2 separate regions of the Homo sapiens genome follow, and region 1 is linked to region 2. The links are contacts of gene promoters, found by promoter capture Hi-C in human tissues and cell types (Jung and others, 2019). All regions are on one chromosome and are shown on one strand. Each heading gives the region's core, a stretch centred on a gene start or on the middle of the fragment in contact. The rest is flanking DNA. Distances are from core to core; before and after follow the strand shown. Region 1 has its middle 200 kb from the start of CYP26A1. Region 2 holds the start of MYOF (myoferlin).

What was found. Contacts are between HindIII fragments. The study calls those that stand out against the background at their distance.
Region 1: a fragment that was not itself captured here is called in contact with the fragment with the promoter of MYOF in region 2 in 1 of the 25 tissues and cell types used here (mesendoderm cells).

The regions. Positions count from the first base shown.
Region 1 is chr10:93,269,611-93,275,916 of GRCh38, forward strand. No RefSeq gene overlaps it. Among named protein-coding and RNA genes, the nearest start is that of CYP26A1, 200 kb to the left of the region's middle. RefSeq lists enhancers at 2,886-3,453, 3,454-4,020, 4,021-4,587. The HindIII fragment of the contact is 7,919 bases long and covers 1-6,306 here.
Region 2 is chr10:93,480,075-93,485,581 of GRCh38, forward strand. It overlaps MYOF (myoferlin), which reads right to left and starts at 2,260. Exons shown (of 54, transcript NM_013451.4): 1 at 2,033-2,260. The coding sequence starts at 2,120. The HindIII fragment of the contact is 15,058 bases long and covers 1-5,507 here.

The DNA of each region.
Region 1 (6,306 bases), core at 1,890-4,389, 210 kb before region 2:
AGCAGATATGGAAAAGAACCAAATAGAACTTCCAGAAATAGAACACATAGGAACCGAAATTAAACACACTGGAGTTTCATAGAAAAGTTTAAGGGACTGCCCTAGTTGGGAGAAGATGAGAGGCAAGGCCTTCAATGGAAAGGAACATTAGGCTTCGTATAATTGGAATTGTGGGTGATGAGTGGGAGGAAAAGAAATAAAAAAAGCTGTAGAAATTGGACCTCTAAGAGCTTTAGGAATCTCAAAGATGTCAACTATTTTGATAACCATAGTAGCCTTAGCATCAGCACTAGGGCCATTTCCTCTTGCACCAGACACCAGAACTTTTTGGAGAAAAGTGATGGAAGAGGGAGGCACCACCAGCTCTTACTGTCATTTAGAAGTAGCACCCTGTCTATAAATTCCAACTGCAACCCGGAACAAGAAAGAATAATTGGCAAACTCAGGAATTATTCTTGAAAATCAGCTCTAATTAAATGAAGACTACTTGTATTTTCTAATTTCATAGTTTAAAAATTGAAGCCCGGAATTCAGGTTTATGAAATTTTTTTCAGGAAGTGAGGCTTCTTATCAAAGTGAAAGTTTACAGGAATGAATAGAAGTAGACATCTGTGAACCTCAAATATCTGAGACAGGTCTCAGTCAATTTAAAAGTTTATTTTGGCAAGGTTAAGGACACGCCCATGACACAGCCTCAACGTGTAAAATGTACACTAGTTCTGTCCTCCAGTAAGGTGGGACAACTTGAAGTGGGGGCTTCAAGGTTAGAAGTAGATTAGAGACAAAAGGTTACATTCTTTTACGTCTTTGATCAGCCTTCCACTGAATATACAATTGAGTCTGCCTCAGTGAATCTGCATTTTTACATAAGCAATAGGGGAGAGGAAGCAATTATATATGCATTATCTCAGGTGAGCCTCCCAGGGATGACTTTGAATAGAATGGGAGGCAAGTTTGCCTTAACCAGTTCCCAGCTTGACTTTCCCCTTTTGCTTAGTGATTTGGGGGTCCCAAGATTTATTTTCCTTTCACACATCAAAGTCCCAGAATCATAAAACTTGGCACTTGGGAAAAAAAAAAAAAAAACACAGAGTGACTGTAGTGCAATCCCTTCACTTACAGAAGAGGGAACTAAGATCTAGAGAAAATGTGGCAGCCCCAGATCACAGGGAACCTCCTAACTTCTAATTTGATACTAAAGCAATACAACCAACCAAAGCAGTCTCCCTTGGGTCAGTTTTATAAAAACAAACAAATAAATAAATAAAGTAAATGTTGTGGATGAGACTGTGAACAGCAGATCATCTGGTGAATGGTTGAGACAATCAAAATGTAAAGAGATGAGGGCTGGTTTCAGTAGAGGGAGGTGAGCCTGCCAGGAAAGGCTTGGAGATGAGCTTTGAAGCACTCCCTAAACACAGTGTCCACAGACACAATGTGACGATGAAAAAAGGCGCTGTGAGGTGGGAGCGTATGCAGACCAGCTTGTGGCTTGGTGGATACATTTATTCGACAAGCATTTACTGAAGGCTGTTAAGGGGTTGGCACAGCACAGGCACACTGGATACGGCCCCTGATCTCATGGAGCTTACAGTCCAGTGGGCTGGGGAGGTGAAGGAGGGAGATGGGACAGTCAATAGGACTTCAAATATCAAGCTGTTGAAGAATTTTTGAAATGTTCTGGGGAGGAGCAGAACATCAGCAAAAGGGTTGGGAGAATAGTCAGGGCAGTGACCTGTCTTGCAAGCAGGGTCCTCAGGAAGTGGGAACCATCAGTGCTGTAGTGTCAGGGATGGATGAATCCCAGAGGCTCTGCACCTGCCTCCCAGTCCATGCTTCATTGCAAGGTTGCAGTTAAGACTGAAGGTCATGGATGCACCAGCACCAAGCTCCAGATTAGTGCTCACTTAATAATGGCTATCATTACCATGACTGTGGGAACTTCCTGCCTCTCAGGGCCTTTTTATACCAAGTTATTCTTCCAGGAAACAGACCAAATGGGAAACAACAGGTACTTCAAAGGGCTGGAATTGTGGGTGCTTTGTGTTTTTTTTCTTTATACTTATGTATGTTTTCCAAGTTTTTCTACCTTAAATATGCACTACTTTTAGAATCAGAAAAAAAGAATTATAACAACTTTTTTTTTTTTTTTTTTGAGACAGTCTTACTCTGTTGCCCAGGCTGGAGTGCAATGGCACGATCTCAGCTCACTTCAACCTCCGCCTCCCAGGTTCAAGCGATTCTCCTGCCTCAGCCTCCCAAGTAGCTGGGATTACAGGCGTATGCCACCACACCTGGCTAATTTTTTATATTTTTAGTAGAGACAAGGTTTCACCATGTTGGCCGGCCTGGCCTCAAACACCTGACCTCAGGTGATCCACCTGCCTTGGCCTCCCAAACTGCTGGGATTACAGGCCGAGTCACCTAAAACAGCTTTTTATAAGGTATCTACTTAAACTACTGATATTAACCATGGGTATCAAATGTACTGATATAAAAAGATATCCACAATATATATTACTGAGTGGGGGAAAAGAGCAAAGGAGCTATGGGGCAAAGCATGTACTGCAGTTGCATTATTGTAAACAACCCTATGTGTGTGTATTTGTATATATAAAAAGTTCTGGGCCAGGCGCGGTGGCTCACACCTGTAATCCCAGCACTTTGGGAGGCCAAGGCGCGTGGATTACCTGATGTCAGGAGTTCGAGGCCAGGCTGGCCAACATGGTGAACCCCCATCTCTACTAAAAAAAAAATACATAAATTAGCTGGGCGTGGTGATGCATGCCTGTAGTCCCAGCTACTTGGGAGGCTGAGGCTGGAGAATCACTTGAACCCGGGAGGCGGAGGTTGCAGTGAGCCGAGATCGTGCCACTGCCTCTAGCCTGGGTGATAGAGCAAGACTCCTGTCTCAATTTAAAAAAAAAAAAAAAAAAGTAAGTTCTGGAAGAACCTAAACTCTGGGGGCAGGGTGGAGTTTTACTTTTCATACTCTTCCATAATGTTTGAACATTTGCAACAAACGTGTTGCTCTTGCAATTTTTCAGCCAAAAATACAGATATTAGGTATCACTTACGGATTTATTGTGTGCTGGGTACTTACTAAGCACATTCCTTCCCATTCCTAGTGGCTTCTACTCTTTTCCTGTTCTGGGGCCACAGGGAACAAGACTCGTCTACTAGGTGGACCCTCTCTCAGGACCCCTGGATCTTCCTTTCAGGGTCTGCACCTCCTCCAGGAGGGATCAGGATTTGAAGCAAGAGATGCCAGGAGGTTATTTTTCTGTCTCCTCTGTGTCCCTGTCCAGCTTTCTTGCCGGGAGACATGTTTGAGATGGAGATAGTGACAGGGAAGGGAGCTTCAGGGGCCATGGCACGTCCTGTCCAGAGCGAGTAGGGAACTGGAATGGGAGAGGATTAGGGAGGCGCCCTCCCTTCCACCCGGGGCACTCACCTCTGGCCAGCAGTCCCACCAGGCTTGCTTCCTCTCACCCTGCCCAGCCCAGGAAGGAGGAGGTGGAAATAATTAACACCTACATGGAAACTTTCACACAGGTTGTGAACTCCTCCAGAAATTTGCATTTTAAACCCTTGGTGGCTAATTGGGAATGCAAGGCTTTGTCTGGCCTGAAAAGAAGGGCAGGCAATGGAAATCAGGTGGAGAGAGGAGGGGGTCTTCTTTGTGCTGGTGTGTGTGTGTGTGTTGGGGGTGCAGACATTCTACTTCCAAGCCTGGTGCAGATAAAAAAGCTGAGTTGAGGGGATGGGGGTGGCACCAAGAACATATGACTTCCTCCCCACTCTCCACAAGGTTTCTGGACATGAACTCCATTTCCAAGTCACCAGCCTGCCTGTAACCTGGGGCTGGCGCCCCGGCCCAGATAGCTGGCCTATGTGTGCAGAAACAGGTCTGAGCCTGCTTTGAGGGGCAGGGGACTCCAGAGAGGAGTGACCCAGCTTGAGCTGGAGAACTCTTCAATTATTAATTAATTTTTTTTTTTGAGACGGAGTCTAGCTCTGTCACTCAGCCTGGAGTACAGTGTTGTGATCTCAGCTCACTGCAACCTCTGCCTCCCAGGTTCAAGCGATTCTCCTGCCTCAGCCTCCCGAGTAGCTGGGATTACAGGCATGTGCCACCATGCCCAGCTAATTTTTGTATTTTAGTAGAGGCAGGGTTTCACTATGTTGGTCAGGCTGGTCTCAAACTGCTGACCTCAAGTGATCCGCCTGCCTCGGCCTCCCAAAGTGCTGGGATTACAGGTGTGAGCCACCACGCCTGGCCTAATTAATTTTTAAATAAGTAAAATGTGCATGAAAAATTCCAAAGGTTCAGAAGTGAAAACCAAGTTTCCCTTTGAACCCTAGTTCCCATGTTCTCTCTATATGTAAAAATACACATATGTATAAATATGTATGTATGTATATGTGTGTATTTACATTTGGGCAGTCTATACAACACAACACACTCTTTTCTTTTGAAATGGAGTCTCGCTCTGTCACCCAGGCTAGAGTGCAATGGCACGATCTTGGCTCATTGCAACTTCCACCCCCTGCATTTAAGCGATTCTCCTGCCTCAGCCCCCCAAGTAACTGGGATCACAGGTGCACATCAACATGCCCAGCTAATTTTTGTATTTTTAGTAGAGATGGGGTTTCGCCACATTGGCCAGGCTGGTCTTGGACTCCTGACCTCAAGTGATCTGCCTGCCTCAGCCCCCCAAATTACTGGGATTACAGGCATGAGCCGCTGTGCCCAGCCACAACACACTCTTAATTATCTTGCTTTTTTCCACAAAGCAATGCTTTTCAGGCCTGCTACTTATAAGATCTTGTTAATGTGATTAATTTCCCTGTGTTCAATCTTCTCATCTGTAAAATGGGAGATAATACAAATATTTCCCTCATAGGGCTGCTGTGAGAATTAAATGAGTTAACTCATGTAAAATCATTATGTCAGAGGCCAGAGTGACTCCATCTTGAATAGGGGCTAGGTAAGATAAGATGAGACCTGCTGGGCTCCATTCCCAGGAGGTCAGTCATTCTTAGTCACAGGATGAGACAGGAGGTCAGCAAGACTGGTATCACAAGTTATGGGTCGTAAAGACCCTGCTGATAAGATAGGATGCAGTAAAGAAACTGGCCAAACACACCAAAACCGAGATGGTGACCTCTGGTCGTCCTCACTGCTCATTACACGTGAATTATAACACATTAGCATGCTAAAAGATACTCCCACCAGTGCCATGACAGTTTACAAATGCATGGCAATTTGTAGTGAAAGTCACCCAATATGGTCTAAACGGGGAGAAACTCTCAGTTCCTGGGGAAATCCCTGCCCTTTTCTCATAAAACTCATGGATAATCCACCCCTTGTTTAGCATATAATCAAGAAATACACATAGAAATAGCTGGCAGCCCTCAGTGGTACTCGTTTATGATATAGTCATTCTGTTGTTTCTTTACTTTCTGAATAAACTTGCTTTTACTTTACTCTATGGACTTGCCCCGAATTCTTCCCTGGGCAAGATTTGAGAACGCTCCCTTGGGTCTGGATCGAGACTCCTTTCTGGTAACAATTAGACCAGTGCCTGGCGTGCAGAGAGCTCTAGAAAAGTGTTAGCTATTGTTATTATTGTGGGAATTGAAAAAGTAATAAAGAATTAATCCCAAGATCCTGAATTTTTGTGTTTTAAGATGTATAAGGGGTGTGTGTGTGTGTGTGTGTGTACGTGTGTATATGTGAGAGAGAGAGCTTTAATGTTATAAGAAAAAATGGTGATTGATTCTGAGATTCTAATCTGGAAATTGGGATATTAACATGATGGAAATACAACAATAACCACCACCACAACAACAAAGTTCTATTTATTGCCTGCCTGCTATGTGCCAGGTGCTGTTTGGGCCTCTGACATGCCTCGGTTAACGCCTGCAACGAAATATTACTAGTGAGTATTTTTATTCCCAGTGTGTAAATGAAGAAACGGAAAGTCTGGTAAATTTGCAACAGGAAAACAGTAAAAGAATAGAGACTTAGTCCTTTATGTTTCCTGTTGATGCCAATCACATAGGGCAACAGCAATCATGAGTTTATGTGCGGATCAGTGCTGTGTATTGTATCAGAGTCCACACTGTTCTTGTTCCTGTGGCATGGTCTGTGCTTAAAGAGAATGAAAATAAGTAGGGGAATGACTGACCTCAAACTTCATCAATACCTCATTTATTGATATTCCACAGTAGGTGATTTTAAGGTAGTCATTGAAGCTGATTCTTTCTAGGATGAAATTTATTTTCTTTTTCTTTTCTTTT
Region 2 (5,507 bases), core at 1,010-3,509:
ATATTTTAATGTCTTTATATGTCAATGATGAAGGATGTAAAATCTTCATATTATGTCTCTATTATGTAACTGCTTCAAGAAAACAAAAAATTAATAAAACCTAACACATGTAAATAAACTCTGACATAACGTGAGTCCATGATATTCACTAGCCAGATTTTCAAACCTCATTGTCCTTTAAGAGCCCAATTTTAAGCTGGGCGTGGTAGTTTACGCCTGTAATCCCAACACTTTGGGAAGCTGAGATGGGAAGAAAGTTTGAGCAAGGGAATTATAACCAGCCTGGGCAACATAGCAAGACCCAGTCTTATTCAAAAAAATTTTTTTAAATTTTTTTTAAATCCAATTTTTGCCCTTTAGATTTTTTTTTTAACCAACCAACAATTTGCCAGCTTTTTTTTTTTTTTTTTTTTTTTTTTGAGACGGAGTCTCACTCTGTTGCCCAGGTTGGAGTGCAGTAGCATGATCTCGGCTCACTGCAACCTCCTCCTCCTGGGTTGAAGCAATCCTCCTGCCTCAGCCTCCCGAGTAGCTGGGATTATAGGCATGTGCCACCATGCCCGGCTAATTTTTGTATTTTTAGTAGAGATGGGGTTTTGCCATGTTGGCCTGGCTGGTCTCGAACTCCTGCCCTCATGTGATCCACCCACCTCAGCCTCCCAAAGTTCTGGGATTACAGGCAGAAGTCACCACACCCAGCCAGCCAGCTTTGAGTTTCATTTCTTTCATTTTCTTGCTCATCCTCAGAGAGAGAGGTTTAAGAAGAGAAATAAAGGGGAAAAACGGGAAACAGAAAGGCGAAAGGTATAGATGCCTCAGGAACTGACAGGGAGTAGCAGTCAGGCTCCTGGAAGAAACGAGAAATGTAGCAAGGCATGGTCAGGAAACACATGTCTATCCATGCTCCCACTCTCTCTGCCTTTCCCTCTCTTTCCCATCCCTCTTGCCAAGAAGTGAGTTGGCAGTCTTACCAATGACAAACAAAATAGATAAAGCCTCCACACTGAGATTTAGAAACCCCACTTTAGCCAAAACTAAGTCACTTACATCAAATTGTACCATGACACCAAGCATTCCTGTCCCCTCCCCTGCAATGGCAATCAAGTGTCATAGAAAAATAGCCTTTTAAAATTACCATGAGCCTTTTATTTTTATTTATTTTTACACCCAGGCTGGAGTGCAGTGGCGTGATCACGGCTCACTGTAGCCTCAAACTCCTGGGCTCAAGCAATCCTCCTGCCTTGGCCTCCCAAAGTTGGCTCAGGGTTGAGGAGCCACTGTGCTCAGCCAACCATGAGGTTTTTAGAGATGATCTTGTCTAAACCCTTCTCGCCTGTTTTGCAGAAAAGAAAATTGAGATCCCAGAGAAATGAAGTAACTTGCCCAAGGTCATTCAGCAGGCAAGATAGAACTAGATCCCCAAATTGCAAACTAGCTGTCCAGAGTTCTTTCCTCAATGAGCAATTTAAAAGCTACAGAATGTACAAAAAAAGCTCCCCAACAGTTTAGATATAAAAACAATTACAAAGGCACAAAAGGGCAGGAAAACTCAATAAAACTATGAACTTCACCCATCCCACCTCCCAGAAACCCAGTGACAATCAAAGCAGCGTCAGGCTGGTTCAAGGAGTAATGGTGTCTCCAACAATTTAATTGCTCTTCTTCCTCCTTTACCCATTTCTCACAGGCAGAGAAAAAATGCATCTAAGACTACTGAAACTTACTTTGAACCAATACAGATGTTTGTTGATACCTGAAATTTAGTGATTCGCAAATACGTTTTCTGCCAAGAGCTTACAGAAATCACACTCTTAGAGCTAAAACATCAGGTCATTCCATGAGTCTCAAGCCCTGGAGAAAATTAAATGCCTTCCCCAGAAACGGGTCCTCTCCCCTGTCCTGCGCAGGTAACAAACGCTGCTGGAGAGACTTGGCTTCATCAGCTGTCTAAATGCAGACTTTTCAAGAAGGTGACTCAAGAAACTAACATTCCAAAACAGGACTTCAGAAAAAGAAGAAAACTTTTTCTTACCCTTAAAAATGACAGAAACAATAGGATCCGGCTTGCCAAATTTCGTTTTAGGGATATTGCTGGCAGATTCCACAATCACTCGCAGCATGGTTCTTAGCTGGTAGAAAGCAAGTTTCAGCAAACGAAGTGGAGACTAGGGCGCTGGAGCTCCGGGTCGCACCGCCCTGGGAGAGAAGTTCTCTCCCAGTGAAGGGAGGATTTCTCCCAGGGCAAGGAAGGGGAAAAGGCAAAATGGGTGGACCTCTGGCGGATTTTACTGAAGGCAACGTGTAAACTGATACCGAACTCCCCGCGTCTACGCAGTGCCGCAGGCACAGACTTATGAATTCGGGAAATGTGGAAGTGAAAAGGACAAACCCTAAACTAAAAATAATTCCGTGCGACAAATGAAACCAACATGAATTTGGAGCTAAGAAATACGGGTAGGTCAGGAAACCACTAAAATGTTGCTGCCTTTTAGCAATGGTTCGTGAAACTGAATTAATTGATTTTTCCGTCACTGCTTTCATTCTTTTCTGAGTTTCAAGGAGTTTTAAAACTTTAGTCATTATTTGCTTTTGACTTTTCGCTGTTACTTCTCACGCCATTGAACACACCCACTCAGTAACCCTATGTTCAGCTTTTTTAAAGCAGCTAAAGGGTGCCTCTTACTGGACGGCAAACGAATGACAGCGTTTATTTCAAGTAAACGCGATCCAGGCATGGGATATATAAATAATTACATATATGTATAAATAATTATATATATATATATATATATATATATATATATATATATATATATATATATATATATATAAAGGACTGAACATAGAATTTCTTCAAAACCCCTTCAGAGGTGAGAGCTGGGCGCCTAAGTTTTCCCGGCTCTTCAAATGCTGCCAATTGCCTTCAGTGAAAATGGAGAAGTGACTCCCCACTGTTTCTGGACCTACAGCTGCCCATGGTGTCTTTCTGTCCCAGAGGGTGCATGAAGACAGTGCAGCTTGGCTGAGATCACAAGAGGCGGCCTGGGGTTAGTCAGCCAGATCTGAGTGTGAGACTCTGCCTCACCACCCTGAGCTACGTCATCTTAGCAAGTTTCTTTTCTTTTCTTTTCTTTTCTTTTTTTTTTTTGACGGAGTCTCGCTCTGTCACCAGGCTGGAGTGCAGTGTAGCGATCTTGGCTCACTGCAACCTCTGCCTCCCGGGTTCAAGCGATTCTCCTGCCTCAGTCTCCCGAGTAGCTGGGACTACAGGCGTGCGCCACCACACGCAGCTAATTTTTTTTTTTTTTGTATTTTTAGTAGAGACGGGGTTTCACCATGCTGGCAAGGATGGTCTCGATCTCTTGACCTTGTGATCCGCCCGCCTCGGCCTCCGTGGCTTGAGCTTTACTGGCTTGAGCTTTACTGGCTTGAGCCACCGTGCTGGCGAGCAAGTTTCTTAACCCCTCTCTTCCTCAGTTTCCTCATCTATGAACTGGGGATAAAGGCTGTTATAAGATAAAGGTCATAGCATAGGAGCTGGCACAAAGCACACAGTAATTTGCACATGTAAGAAGTTCATGCTTATTTGTGGTCTCACAGCGTTTCTGTTAGTGCAGGCTGACTTTAAATCAGGATCTCGTTATATTTCAGAAGAAAAGGCTAAAACTTGGGATGAAGAAACATTGGGCTTCTTTTTGCTTTAGAACACACATCAAGCAGACCCACCTGTAAATAAACATTTCAAGTACATTGAATAAGCATGACTTAACCTACAAGAATTCTTCTGTCTCCACGAGTTTCTCCAAGGCTTAAAGCAAAGAACCAATTACCCAGTGCTGTGTTCATTATTGTATTTAGTGGACATGTTGGCAGTTTTAGTGGAATATAGAGATTATTACTTTTATTTTATCTGGCTGCTTTCTATTTGCCATTTTTACTGTGAAATATATTTACAGAAAAATGCATACTACATAAACGTGACAGTTTAACAAGCATCCAGGTCAAGACAGAACATTGCCAGTCCTCCAGAAGCCCCTGGAATACCCCATATATCATATCCACCTCCTTCTCCCAGAGGTAACCACTCTCCTGATTTTTTTTTCTTTTTTTAGATGGAGTTTCACTCTTGTTGCCCAGGCTGGATTGAAGTGGGGTGATCGGCTCACTGCCACCTCCACCTCCCGGGTTCAAGCAATTCTCCTGCCTCAGCCTCCCAGGTAGCTGGGATTACAGGCGTGCACTACCACACCCGGCTAATTTTGTATTTTTAGTAGAGACAGGGTTTCACCGTGTTGGCCAGGCTGGTCTCAAACTCCTGACCTCAGGTGATCCATCCACCTCGGCCTCCCAAAGTGCTGGGATTACAGGCATGAGCCACCATGCCTGGCCCACTCTCCTGATTTTTATGGTAATGATTTCCTTGCTTTTCTTTGTAGTTTTTACCGAAAACAACAACAACAAAACAGTTTAGGTTTGCTTGCTCATGACCTTTGTTTGGTGATATAAATTCTTTTGTATGTTATGAACTTTACATACAACACATATATTCATATATATAGGTACACACATACATGTGTTCATACTTTGTGAATTCTTTGCTGTATTATGACTTTATAGAAATGGACTCATACAGAATGGATTCTTTCGTGTTTGACTTCTTTTTTCTCAGTATTATATTGTGAAATTCATTCATGTAGCTCTACTTCCTTCACTCTTGTTGCTATATGGCATTTCATTGTATGAGTTTCTGACATTTTATTTATTTATTTATTTTGAGACAGAGTCTTGCTCTGTAGCCCAGGCTGGAGTGCAGTGGTGCGATCTCGTTTCACTGCAACCTCTGCCTCCCGGGTTCAAGCAATTCTCCTGCCTCAGCCTCCTGAGTAGCTGGGATTACAGGTGCACACCACCACGCCCGGCTAATTTTTGTATCTTTAGTAGAGATGGGGTGTCACCATGTTGGCCAGGATGTTCTCGAACTCTTTACCTCGTGATCCGCCTGCCTCAGCCTCCCAAAGTGCTGGGATTACAGGCATGAGCCACTGCGCCTGGCCTCCAGATTTGATTAATTCATTCTACTACTGCCAGACATTTGGACAGTTCAGGGAATGGGGCTATTACAAACAGTGCTGTTCTGAACAGTCCAAGACTGTTCTGGCACAAATGTGCATGAGTCTATTTAGAGTCTAATCTATGGGTGGAATTGCTTGCTGGGCCAGAGAATGTATGCATTTCTTCACCTTTACAAGGTAATTCCAAATTATATTCCACAATGGTACTCTTGCCAGCAGTGTATGAGACTTCCTGTTGTTCTAAATTTTTGTCATACTTAACCAATGTTAGATTTTTTACATTTGCCCTTCTGGTGAGCATATAATAGCATCTCACTGGAGTTTTAATTTGCCTTTTACCTATTCATGTGGGAGAAAAAGACAAATGACTTCCAACCTTACATAATACATAATCAATTACAGGTGGAGTATAAATCTAAATAAGCAAGATAAAAC